Linked DNA regions of Homo sapiens: region 2 is linked to region 1. The links are contacts of gene promoters, found by promoter capture Hi-C in blood cells and fetal thymus (Javierre and others, 2016). All regions are on one chromosome and are shown on one strand. The core of a region is centred on a gene start or on the middle of the fragment in contact, and the rest is flanking DNA. Distances in the headings are between cores, read along the strand shown.

Evidence for each region. Contacts are between HindIII fragments. The CHiCAGO score rates a contact against its expected background, and 5 or more counts as called.
Region 2: a fragment that was not itself captured here is called in contact with the fragment with the promoter of MROH9 in region 1 in 4 of 17 cell types (M0 macrophages, M1 macrophages, M2 macrophages and 1 more); the score reaches 8.0 in M0 macrophages.

The regions. Positions count from the first base shown.
Region 1 is chr1:170,934,278-170,940,847 of GRCh38, forward strand. It overlaps MROH9 (maestro heat like repeat family member 9), which reads left to right and starts at 1,257. Exons shown (of 22, transcript NM_001163629.2): 1 at 1,257-1,310. The HindIII fragment of the contact is 7,245 bases long and covers 1-1,346 here.
Region 2 is chr1:169,902,183-169,908,794 of GRCh38, forward strand. No RefSeq gene overlaps it. Among named protein-coding and RNA genes, the nearest start is that of SCYL3, 12 kb to the left of the region's middle. The HindIII fragment of the contact is 5,363 bases long and covers 1-5,263 here.

The sequences.
Region 1 (6,570 bases), core at 7-2,506:
CAGAATGAACCAAAGACCTAAATGTAAGGCAAAAACTACAAAACTCTTAGAAAAGTTCTAAATCTAATCTCTGTGAAGTTGGGCCAGGGAATGCAGGCAATGTCTTTTTCTTTTTTTTTAGTTATGATACCAAAAACACAAGCAATAAAAGAAAAAGAATGGCAAATTTAAATTTCACTTAAATTTAAAACTTTTGTGCTTCAAGAGACACTGTCAAGAAAATGTAAAGGCAGCCCATAGAAAAGGAGGAATATTTGCAAATTATGTATCTGATAAGAGACTAGCATCTAGAACATATTAAAAAATCACAACTCAGTAATAAAAATCCAAACAGTCTAATCATAAAAAGTCACATATTGTATAAATCTATTTACATAAAATGTCCAGAAGGCAGACAGAAGATTAGTGGTTGCCAGGTACTTGGGGGAGAGGGAGGGTGAATGTCTGCTAACAGGTACAGGGTTTCTTTGGAGCTTGTTCTAAATGAAAATGTTCTAAAATTAGATAGTAATGATGGTTGTATACCTCTGTAAATATATTTAAAATGATTGAATTATATACTTTAAGATAAATTTTATGGTATGTGAATTATATTTTAATAACTCTATTATAAAAAGTGCTACAATAAACATCCTTCATGTCTCTCAGTGCATCAGTTGTATACATGTTTATACACTCTATGGACCTAGAACTGGAAATTCTGGGTTGTAGATTTTCAGTTTTGCTAGAACTTGACAAGTTTCTCTACAAACTAGTTATATCCATTTATAATCCCACCAGTCGTGTGAGAAAGTTCAACTTTCTTTTATCTTTGCCAATATTTGAAATTATCTTTTTTTAATTTTTACTTGTATTTTAGTACTTTTTAACTTATTAGCTGGGAAATAATATTTTAATGGTTTGTATTTTCATAACTTCAAGTGAGATTAAAAATCTTTTAAAATATTTATTGGCCATTCAGTTTTCCTTTTCTGTGAATTTTCTATTCTTATCCTTTGCCCAGCTTCTACTGGACTGTTGGTCTGAAGAACTATCTTTCAGTGCTTGTAACATAGAAACCAGAAACTTACCCACCCCTCAATAATGACAGGTGAGCATTAGTAGCCACTTGGGCATGCCAGGACATTCTACCACATTCATTCCAGAATGGAATCTTTGAAACATATGGTTGCCATGACGAGTGTCAACATTTCAAAGAATTTGCTTGGTTGATAACTACCTAGAGTATTTTACCTTTGGCTAAGAGGTAATATACTAGAGTTTCTCTTCACTACTTTGTCTCACCGTGATTACAGAGAAGTTACAAATATGTAAGTGAATTCCTATTAATATTTCTGTCATTCAAAAGCTTGTCTTTTTTTCTAATCCTGACTACTTTTCTTAATTTTTGTTCTGTTAAGAAAAAGAACCATGAATACATTAGAAAATTACGTTATGGCCCAGGTATGGTGGCTCACACCTGTAATCCCAGCACTTTGGGAGGCTGTGGGCGGATCATGAGGTCAGGAGGTCGAGACCACCCTAGGCAACTTGGTGAAACCCCATCTCTACTAAAAATACAAAAATTAGCTGGGTGTGGTGGCGGGTGCCTGTAATCCCAGCTACTCAGGAGGCTGAGGCAGGAGAATCACTTGAACTCGGGAGGTGGAGGTTGCAGTGAGCCGAGATCATGCTACTGCACTCCAGCCTGGCAACAGAGTGAGACAAAAAAAAAAAAAAAAAAAAAAAAAAGAAAAGAAAAAGAAAATTACATTACTATGGGCCCTCATCCAGAAATCTTGCCAAAGTTGGCAATTGGAAGAATTTGTCTTTATTCATTAATCTCCTAACTTCATGCCTTACTAGTAAGGATTATCTTATTAGTAAGGATGAGAGAAACCACAACTATATAGATAAATATATTTATTATAAGGTATTGGTTTACACAATAATAGAAGCTAGGAAGTCCTGGATTCTGCTTTCTGCAAGACAGAGACCCAGGAGATCCAATGGTGCAGTTTGAAGGCCTGAGAGCAAGAGAGTTGATGATAAAAATTCCAGCCTGGTTCTGAGGATCTGAGAACCAGAGCACCGAGGGCAGCAGATTTGTGTCCCAAGTCAAGTAGTCAGGCAAAGAGAAAACTAAGCATTCTTCTGCCTTCTTGTTTTATTCAGGCCCTCAATGGATTGGAAGATGTTGACCCACATTAGGGAGTGTCATCTCCTATCATCAGAACACCAATTTAAATGCTAATCTCTTCTGGAAATACCCTCACAGACATACCCCAAAATAATGTTTACCAGATATCTGGGCATCCTATGGCTCACTCAGTTTGACACGTAATATTAACTAACCATAATGAGTTCCCACGTTGAAAATTTGGCACCCATATACATATCCTTAAGCCATAGTTAATCTCCAAATAAAGTCAATAAGAAGCTCATAATTCCATTTAACATGTTGAAATGTAGTGGGATTGATAAGGAATCAGAGAGACCGATGGGGTTGAGAAGGATATTTATTATTTAGGTGCACCGGCCCAGTTGGATTAACCTCCAAAGGACTGAGCCCTGAACAAAGAGTTATCTTTTAATCATTTCGTGGGGTGGGGGAGATCTGTGTAGGGGGAAGCATATTACAGAAGTGAGAAACAAAGACAGTTATTCAATTAATTGAAACATGCATTACATCATTTCTTACTTTTCAAGGAAAAACATGTTTTATGACTTGAGTTTATCTGTCTAGTGACCTTGCAGCTGCACAGCTAGAGAAACAGGGTCTTCACAATGCCTGGGAAAGGAGGAGAGATAAGGCTCACTAGCCACAGAAAAACAGGCAGTTAATTTTAAAGGACTCCAGCTCTTTCTCTTTCTCTGGGGAATTGGGTTTTCTTACATACAACTGAGTTTCTGCTTACACATTCTTTAATTTCTTTTAATTCCTGTTCCAACATATGTCCTGCATACAACTGAAAATGCACTAAACCCTTCTCAGAGGAGGAGATAAAGTCCTTCAGTGATGTTTACTCTCTTCCTTGATGTCCTGTAACTTAAACACTATGATGTAACATTAACAATACTTAAATACTAGAATATGAAGTCATTGCATTTTGTATTATGTGATAAGAGAATAAGAAAAGAAAAAATATTTGGTATCTAATATATACACAAAGAAATGTATTCAGAACAAAATTAAAAGGAAATACTCATAATTATTACAGTCTTCATTTCTGCACTGATCACAGCATCATAATCAGTATTTTTTTTTTTTTTTTTTTTTTTTGAGACGGAGTCTCGCTCTGTCGCCCAGGCTGGAGTGCAGTGGCGGGATCTCGGCTCACTGCAAGCTCCGCCTCCCGGGTTCACGCCATTCTCCTGCCTCAGCCTCCCAAGTAGCTGGGACTACAGGCGCCCGCCACTACGCCCGGCTAATTTTTTTTGTATTTTTAGTAGAGACGGGGTTTCACCGTTTTAGCCGGGATGGTCTCGATCTCCTGACCTCGTGATCCGCCCGCCTCGGCCTCCCAAAGTGCTGGGATTACAGGCGTGAGCCACCGCGCCCGGCCCATAATCAGTATTTTTAACTCCCTTTTTCTACTACACATTCTGTAGTTTCTTTGCCTTCAGTAAGCACCTCAGCTGCTTGTGGTTCTTTACCTGCTAAAGTGATCCATAAAGGTCTGGGTCACTAGTAGTCCTACCTGCACTGGGTGGTTGTAGTTTTCCATTGATCTTAATCACAGGACACAGTAATACTAAGAGACACACTAAGGGATCTTTTGTATTGCAGACATACTCTTCCTTGCCTCCATTATGGAATAGTAGCCCAAGTTCTCTTTGGTAGTGTGGATCAGTCAGTCCAACCAGCACCATAACTCCCTTCTTAGCCTGTTGACTCAGAAGCACAAGGAGACCAAGGTGGCCAGGTGGCAGTCTTAACTTCCAGTTCAGTGGAATTATTGTCGTGTCCCCTGATGGAAGAATTCTTCCCTCCAGAACTGAGATCTCTAAGCCAGCAGAGCATAATGCCACAAGAACAGGAAGCTAGTGGGACACTAAGGATAATAGTGAGTGGTGCAACTCTATTTTCACCCCTTGATCCCTAGACCCAGGAATCCTGGTTATAGGAGAAATAGCACTATAAATTGAACATATTCAGAGCATATTCAGTTTTCCGGAGAACCTTGCCCCAGCCCTTCCAGGTATTGACATCTAGCTGATGACGTAACTGAGTCTTCAAAAGGTCATTCCACCGTTCCATCAAACAAGTGGCTTTAGGATGGTGGGGAACATGGTAAGACTAGTGAATTCCATGAGCATAAGCCAATTGCCCCACTTCTTTGGCTGTGAAGTGAGTTCCTTGATCAGAAGCAATGCTGTGTGGAATAACATGATGGTGGATAAGGCATTCTATAAGTCCACAAATGGCAGTTTTGGCAGAAGCATTGCATACCTGGACGGCAAATCCATATCCAGGGTAAGTGTCTATTTCAGTAAGGACAAAATGCTTCCTCTTCTATGATGGACGCAGTCCAATGTAGTCAAGCTGCCACCAGGTAGCTGGCTGATCACTCTGGGCCACATCAAGGACTCAGTGTTTTTCTCTGCTACTGGCATATTGGCCACTCGGTAGTGGCCACAGCTAGGTTGTCCTTGACAAATAAAAGTCCATGTTGCTGGACCCATACATAATTTACATCCCTGACACTATGGCTACTTTGCTCATGAGCCTATTGGGTGATGACACTAGTGGCTGAAGAAATAGCCTAATTGGTACCTACAGAATGGGTCATCCTATCTGCTTGATTATTAAATAATCCTCAGCAGAGATTGCCCTTTGGTGAATATTTACAGGGAACACAAATATCTTCAAACTTTTTGCTAATTCTGAGATGTCTATCCACTTATCTCTTCCTCAAATTTCTTCATCAATTTTCCAATCATGTTCCTTCCAAGTTTCTGACCATCTAGAAAAATCACTGGGCACAGCCCATGAATCAGTATATAATCACACATCTGGCTATTTCTCCTTCCAATCAAAGTAAAAAATCAGATTCAGTGCTCGAAGTTCTGCCTACAGGGAGGATTGCACTGCTTGGGGTTTTGCCCACTGGGAGTATTTCTCTTGGCCATTGTCCTTCAGAGATGTCCCAAAAGGGGGCTATAGGGATACAGTCATCCACTTTCAAGTTGTGCCTGTATATCATGTAGAACCAACTGTAAACCAGGCTGTTTTCTTCCTCTGTCAATTGATCATAGGGAACTCCCCATGAAGCCATAGTTGCAGGCTAATAAAGAGAAGGCAGTGTAGTAGGAGGAAGGATCACTGGCTTTTGGCCATTTCTTTATGTAATTTACTTGTGCCTTCAAGACCTGCTCAGGCCTGATCACACATATATATCACTTCCATTTGATGATGGAGTACTGCCGTGCACACCCAACTTTATGGCTTGGTGGGTTGGATAACACCCAGTTCATGATAAGCAGCTCAGATCACATGGTAACTTGGTGCCACGTGGTCAAGCATTCAGTCTCTACTAAGGCCTAGTAGCATGTCAAGGGCTGTTTCTCAAAAGAAGACTAACTATCTGCAGAGGAGAGTAAGGCTTTGCTCCAAAATCCTGGGGGCTTGCACTTCAATTCACTGCCAAAGGCTGAAAAGAGCATCATTATCTGCCACTGATGCATCAAGCACCACTGGATCTGCTGCATCCTATTGTCCAAGTACCAGAGCAGACTGTACAACAGCCTGGACCTGTTTCAGTCTTCTTCTACTATGGGCTCCATTCAAATTAGCAGCTTTTTAGGTCACTTGGTGAATGTGCTGGAGTAACACACCCAAATGAGAAATATGTTGCCTAAAATCTGTAGGGGCCCATTGGGCATTCTGCTTCTTTTTTGGCTTTAGGAGGTACCAGATGCAACAAGTTACCTTTAACCTTAGAAGGGATATCTCAACATGCTCCACACTACTGGACCCCTAGAAATTTCACTGAGATAGAAGGCCTCTGAATTTTTGTCAGATTTATTTCCCACCCTCTGGCACACAGGTGTCCTGCCAATAAGTTTAGATATTGCTACTTCTTGTTCAGAAGATCCAATAAGCATAATGTCGCCAATATAATGAACCAGTGTAATGTTTGTGGATGGGGAAGTGATTAAGACTCCTGAAAACTAAATTATGACATACAGCTGGAGAGTTGACATGCCCCTGTGGTAGAACAGTGAAGGTGTATTGCTGGCCTTTCCAGCTGAACACAAACTGCTTCATGTACACCTTACGGAAAGGGATAGAGAAAAAAAGTATTTGCCAGAATAATAGCTGCATACCAGGTACCAGAGAATATGTCAATTTGCTCAAGCAATGAAATCACACCTGGAACAGCAACTGCATTTAGAGTTACCACCTGGTTAAGCTTATGGTAATCCACTGTCATTCTCCAAGATCTATCTTCTTCACAGTCCAAATAGATAATTTAAATGGGGATGTGGTACAAATGACAACCCCTGATTCATTTAAGTCCTTGATGATGGCACTAACCTCTGCAATCCCTCCAGGAATGCAGTATTGCTTCCAGCTTACTATGTTCC
Region 2 (6,612 bases), core at 1,332-3,831, 1.0 Mb before region 1:
TAGGAAACAGGAGGGGATACGGCATGGTCACATTTCCTGATAAGGTATAGATGGCAGTTAACTTTACAAATTTATGCCAAGAAACAGTAACTTATGATCTTTAGCTAGTTTCTCAGTCCTCTCCAAAGCTGTGCTTCCAGCTCAGGACAACATAAAAACCATTTGCTCTGTTTCCTTAAAAAAAAAAAAAAATTCCCTGTTGCTCACTGTACTATTCCAAGTCTTTCTCAGGGCTGCCATCTCTCCTGAGTCTCTCCCCTCCTCCCTGCAAACAAACACCCACCCCAGTCTCAGTTCTACCTCAAGGAAGAAGCAGCTAGATCGGGGAACTTACTGCTTATGGGACAAAGGGATTCAGTGCAATGTCTGTTCCATCATCAGCAAGTATATTAAAAATGAGTAAAACAAATCCCAGTGATTTTAGACCTCCTCTGAAAACTTTTGCCCTCAATTTTGATACTAGTTTCTTAAAAAATTATTTTCCTCTTTTCTCACAGCAATTGTTTTCTCACCAATCTTTTGAATTTTTTCATTTACTTTTTTTCCTAACTTTGCCTCTCACTGTATGGAATCTAAATGGAGTTCATTAGGAATGAATTTATTGATCCAGTGACATTAGCAGCAGTAAAAGCCACTACGGTGTGTACAACCAAGTGGCAAAGACACGTGTGTTCCCAAAACACAAGGAATAGCACCACTGCTATCTTCTCACCATTTTTGATAAGAGAGGTGCGGAGGAAGAGGAAGGGCTTATTTGTCTTTTTTATCTTCTGCAAGAAATAGGAAACCAAGAAACAGCTAAAGGAAATCCGGTAGTGATGTGCTGAAATCAGAGTAGCCCTAAACCAAGTGTGTAAACACGGCATTTTAATAATAGGAATTCAGACCAAGAAGGGTAATTAGGAATTACATGAAAATGTGATTACACTAATAAAGTTATTTTAGAGAGAAAAACTAAAACAGAAATTGGTACCACAAAATTAACTCTCCAGACAAAGGTTGGGCCAGGTGTGCATTTGGTTAGGTCTCAGAGGGGAGCTCAATTCAGGGCACTCTTTCTGCTCCCCGTGATAGTAGACAGTGAAGTCACTTGTCTGCTGGGTAGATGTGTGCATTTGGAGCTTTGCTGTGTCTTCATTTTGAGTACTTTTATTGCCGCCTAAAAAATGCCTGGACCAATGAATGGCTGAACAAAATGTATTCCAAACAATGGAATATTATTTGGCCATTGGAAGGGATAAAGTTTTCATACGTGTGACAACATGGATGCTGTGAAAACATCATGTTAAGTGGAAGAATCCAGGCACAAAAAGCCACACATTGTTTGAGTGCATTTATATGAAATGTCCAGGTTAGATAAATCCACACAGAAAGAAAGCAGATACATGGTTGCTAGGGGCTGGGGGTAAGGAGGAATGGGGGCATGACTGCTAATGGGTAGGAGGTTTCCTTTTGGAGTGATGAAAGCATTCTGGGAACTGGATAATGGTGATGGTTGTGCAACCTTTAGAATATACTAAAATCCACTAAATTATATTTTTAAAGTACATTTTAAATGTAAATTTTAAAAAGGTACTTTTATGGTATCTGTATTATTTCTCAATTAAAAAAAAAGACCATGCTATGTGTATTAGTCCATTCTTGCTCAGCTATAAAAACATACCTGAGACTAGGTAATTTATAAACAAAGGAAGTTTAATTGGCTTATGGTTCCGTGGGTTGTACAGGCTTCTGCTTCTGGGGAGGCCTCAGGTGACTTAAAATGATGGCAGAAGGTGAAGGGGAAGCAAGCACATCTTACATGTCAGAAGCAGGAGGAAAAGAGTGAAAGGGGAGACCCTACAGACTTTTAAACAGCCAGATCTCATGAGAACTCTGTCACGAGACAGCACTAGGGGGATGGCGCTACATCATTACAAACCACCTCCATGATCCAGTCACCTCCCACTAGGTCCCACCTCCAACACTGAGGGTCATACTTCAACATGAGATTTGGGTGGGGACACAGAGCCAAACCATATCACTGTGTACGAGCATGTACACAGGTACACATGAAGGGAGATGAATATCACATTCATCAAGTCATTAACAGTTGAAACAAAGTGGAACTCTATCAACAGCATGTGCCTTATAACATATTCTGTGTTATTAAAAGTCAAATTTGAGAAAACTAAAAATTGAGGATACTCATAAAGACATTAGAAATGTTAAAAAATAAAAACAAGTAGCTAGACTTGGTAATTTCAGTGAGAAATGATTGATAGGCCCTGATGTGGTTTGGCTCTGTGTCCCCACCCAAATCGCCTGTCAAATTCTAATTCCCAGTGTTGGGGGAGGGACCTGGTGGGAGGTGACTGGATCATAGGGGTGGATTTCCCCTGTGTTCTCCTGGTGATACTGAGTTCTCATAAGATCTGGTTGTTTAAAAGTGTGTGTGTAGCACCTACCCCTGCTCTCTTTCTTTCCTGCTCCATCATGTGAAGAAGGTGCTTGCTTCCCCTTCGCCCTTCCACCATGACTTTAAGTTTCCTGAGGATGCCCCAGCCATGCTTGCTATACAGCCTGTGGAACTGTGAATCAATTAAACCTCTTTTCTTCATAAATTACCCTGTCTCAGGTTGTTCTTTCTAGCAATGTGGGAATGGACTAACACAGGCTCAGCGTCCCTTTCTTAACTATTTCACTCCATTTCTGGAGTTTGTATGAACCCTCCAAACTTGTGTGGTTCTCCTTTTCAAAATCACCAAATTAAAACTGATGCCTTTGCAGAGAGTAGCAGGTGGTTGCCAGAAGCTGTGGGGTGGGGGAAATTGGGAGATGCTGGACAAAGGGTATAGACTTTCAGTTTAAGATGACTAAGCTCTGGGGATCTAACATACAACACACTGATTACACTTACTAATACTGCATTGTATACTTGACATTTGGAGACAGTGGATTTTAAGTGGCTTCCCCCTTCCTCACCCCACATACACACAAATAGTAACTAATTGTGGTGATGATAATCTTTTTTTTTTTTTTTTTTTTTTTAAAGACAAAGCCTCACTCTGTCACCTGGACTGCAGTGCTGTGGTGCAATCAGGACTCGCAGCAGCCTCAACCTCCCAGATTCAAGCGATCCTCCCAACTCAGCACCCCTCACGTTCTCCCCACCCCCAACTAGCTGGGACTACAGGCATGCACCACCATGCCCAGCCAATTTTTTCTAGAATTTTAGTAGAGATGAGATCTCTCTTTGCTGCCCAGGCTGGTCTTGAACTCCTGGGCTCAAGTGATCCCCCCACCTCGGCCTCCCAAAGTGCTAGGATTACAGCTGTGAGCCACCGTGCCTGGCTATGATAATCATTTCACAATGTATCCATCTATCAAGTCATCACAGTGTACACCTTGAATACATACAATTTTTAATCTGTCCATTATATCTCAATAAAGCTGGAACACAACAATAAGATTCCTTCAGCCCAGGACTGGAAATAAAGAAGCTCTTAGAATGGTGATCATTAAAAAGTCAAGAAACAACAGGTGCTGGAGAGGATGTGGAGAAATAGGAACAGTTTTACACCGTTGGTGGGACTGCAAACTAGTTCAACCATTGTGGAAGACAGTGTGGCGATTCCTCAAGGATCTAGAACTAGAAATACCATTTGACCCAGCCATCCCATTACTGGGTATATACCCAAAGGATTATAAATCATTCTACAATAAAGACACATGCACACATATGTTTATTGAAGCACTATTCACAATAGCAAAGACTTGGAACCAACCCAAATGTCCAACAATGATAGACTGGATTAAGAAAATGTGGCACATATACACCATGGAATACTATGCAGCCATAAAAAAGGATGAGATCATGTCCTTTGTAGGGACATGGAGGAAGCTGGAAACCATCATTCTGAGCAAACTATCGCAAGGACAGAAAACCAAACACTGCATGTTCTCACTCACAGGTGGGAATTGAACAATGAGAACACTTGGACACAGGAAGGGGAACATTACACACCGGGGCCTGTTGTGGGGTGAGAGGAGGTGGGAGGGATAGCATTAGAGATATACCTAATGTAAATGACGAGTTGATGGGTGCAGCACACCAACATGGCACATGTATACATATGTAATGAACTTGCATGTTGTGCACATGTACCCTAGAACTTAAAGTATAATAAAAAATAAAAATAACAAACATTTTTAAAAGAATAAAAAGTATTTCTGCTTCTGGTAAAAAAAAAATAAAAGAAAAAAGAAAAAACCCTGACAGTTAAGCTAACCAAAAGGTGATGTTTCCTTGACTCACCCTCCTGGAGTCTAAGCCTTAGTGGGCAGCTCCATGTCCCACCTGGTGCAAGCTGTAATAGATATAATCTGAGGGGTTCAGCTTCATATTCATGTACTAGTGCAGTGCTGATTACACAGCAGACTTGAAACAGTAGTAAATTGTAGAGAAGAAGGAAAAAGAGCTGAACCTGTAAGAACTCACTCATCATTTCTGTCTCATTCTATTGGTAGAAGTGAGATACAAGGGAAGCCCAGTTTCAAAAAGTGAGGAAATAGAGTCCATCTTTTGATGAGAGGAGCTGGAGAATACCATGGTCACCTTTTTTAGTTACATATCTCCTTCTGCCACAGTTATTTACATCCCATCCACAAGCAAAATATGCTTACCTCCTCTGCCAAAAACCTCCTATCGTTATGGCATTAGGCTCTGGTTTAAAGTGTAGGATCTCATCATCAAAATCACATCCAGGCATGGATGAGGCTCTTTGGGAGTGGTGTTCAGGTTCTCTTCTAGTATGGCTCTTCTTGATCTAGAACCTGTGGACTGAAAGAAGGTACCTGCCATCTTGAACTCTCCACCCTTACCCAACATGCAACAGTGAGATGGACACAATAACCACAAAGGATACTCCCATGGAAACAGAGATGTGTAGTCATCTTGGGTTCATAGAAAATCTGAAATGGTGCCAGGAACATGTGCCAGTTCCCTTTACTCTAGGGCCAGGGAATGTTCCTTAGAGCTCATTTTTACTTCCTTTGAATAGTTTCATATTATACAATGGTGCTATAATTGTACAAGAGGTAATCCTGTAATAAATTCCATATGCTATATCACTCATAGTGGTTCTGTTTTTCTGATCAAACTCTGACTGATACAAGCCCAATTAAAAAGAGGTGCCCCCATTAGTCTCAGAATTTTCTTTAGTGGCATTACTTACTGGATTCTGGATCTTAGATCTGTGGATGATCCCTATCAGGTCAGGAAAGCTTCAGGAGCCACCAGTGGGATTTTGATGTAAGGGATTCCAGGGGATACAAACAAATTTATGCCCTTAGAAAAACAACCACTTTTGGTCCAGTTGGAGCTACTTGAGTTGGAAGGTCTTATGGGTCTGGTGCCTACATCGTAGCAACAAAGCTTCTAACTATATTTTGAAACAGATTAAACTGCGAACAGTCCAGAGTGATGGCTCAGATCTGGAGCGAATTAAAATATCAATCGTACTTTAAGGAAGGGGCCAAAATATTACACTCACAAGAAGGCGGCATGGCAGACACTGGGCCTCCACTATTCTGAAGGATGGCTGTGTCAACTGAGATCAAAGGGGAACCTGTGATAAGAGGAAAATACCCTGGTAGGATTTACAGTGGAAACACAAAGACTACTAGTGCGTCACGGATAGCAATGCCACCATAACCTGAAATAAAGTTAAATGCTAGGCTCTGCCTTCCCACCTACATGCCCTCAGAAAAGAAGGACCAAGCAAATTGGCACAATATATTTAGCTCCAGGTAGTTTCAATGCAGACAGTACAAGAAGCCAGGTGATTGGTGGGCTGCGGCTGATGGGCTGACTATATGGTCACATAGATGGAAACAAAATGCCTCGATAATTAGTGTAAACCCAGCTTGGGAAAAGTAACTATAGAAAGCCCTGCTGATGTATGTAGATACCAACTTGATGAGGGAGAGGTTTATAAATATATGAAATAGATGCTCTAACTTGAACCACAAGCCTATAAAAAGGAAAACTGGGACAATAGGGGTTATTTCCATCTCTGAATCCAATAGATTAGGGAATTAAATGAAGAATATAAAGAGGGTACTCCAACCACTTGGAGAGAATCTGAGGCACTTCCATACTGCATCAAGTGATGGTACACAACCAGATGCAGAAGAGGAAAATTACTTTTCAGAAAGGCTTGTGGGGTCCCTAATTGCATTCAGTTTTTCTTCTCCTTCCTCTAGCTGATGGGACTCAATGGATATATTCCCAAGGCAAAGAAGAAGCATTGCTAGGAGTTTTCCCTCCAATGAGGAAATGAGCTTGTCTGATAGGAGAGGATAGCTATTTAGGCTAGAATAAATACCTTCTATTAGTGTCAAACACTTATTTTGCAGGACTAGAGGCCTGATTACTCAGAGAGAGACTTGCATTAAAGAAATGGAAGTAGTACAGCTAGGTGTGGTGGTACGCACCTGTAGTCCCAGCTACTTTGGGAGGGTGAGGCAGGAGAATCGCTTGAACCCAGGAGGCGGAGCTTGCAGTGAGCCAAGATTGCGCCACTGCACTCCAGCTTGGGTGACAGAGGGAGACTTCATCTCAAAAAAAAA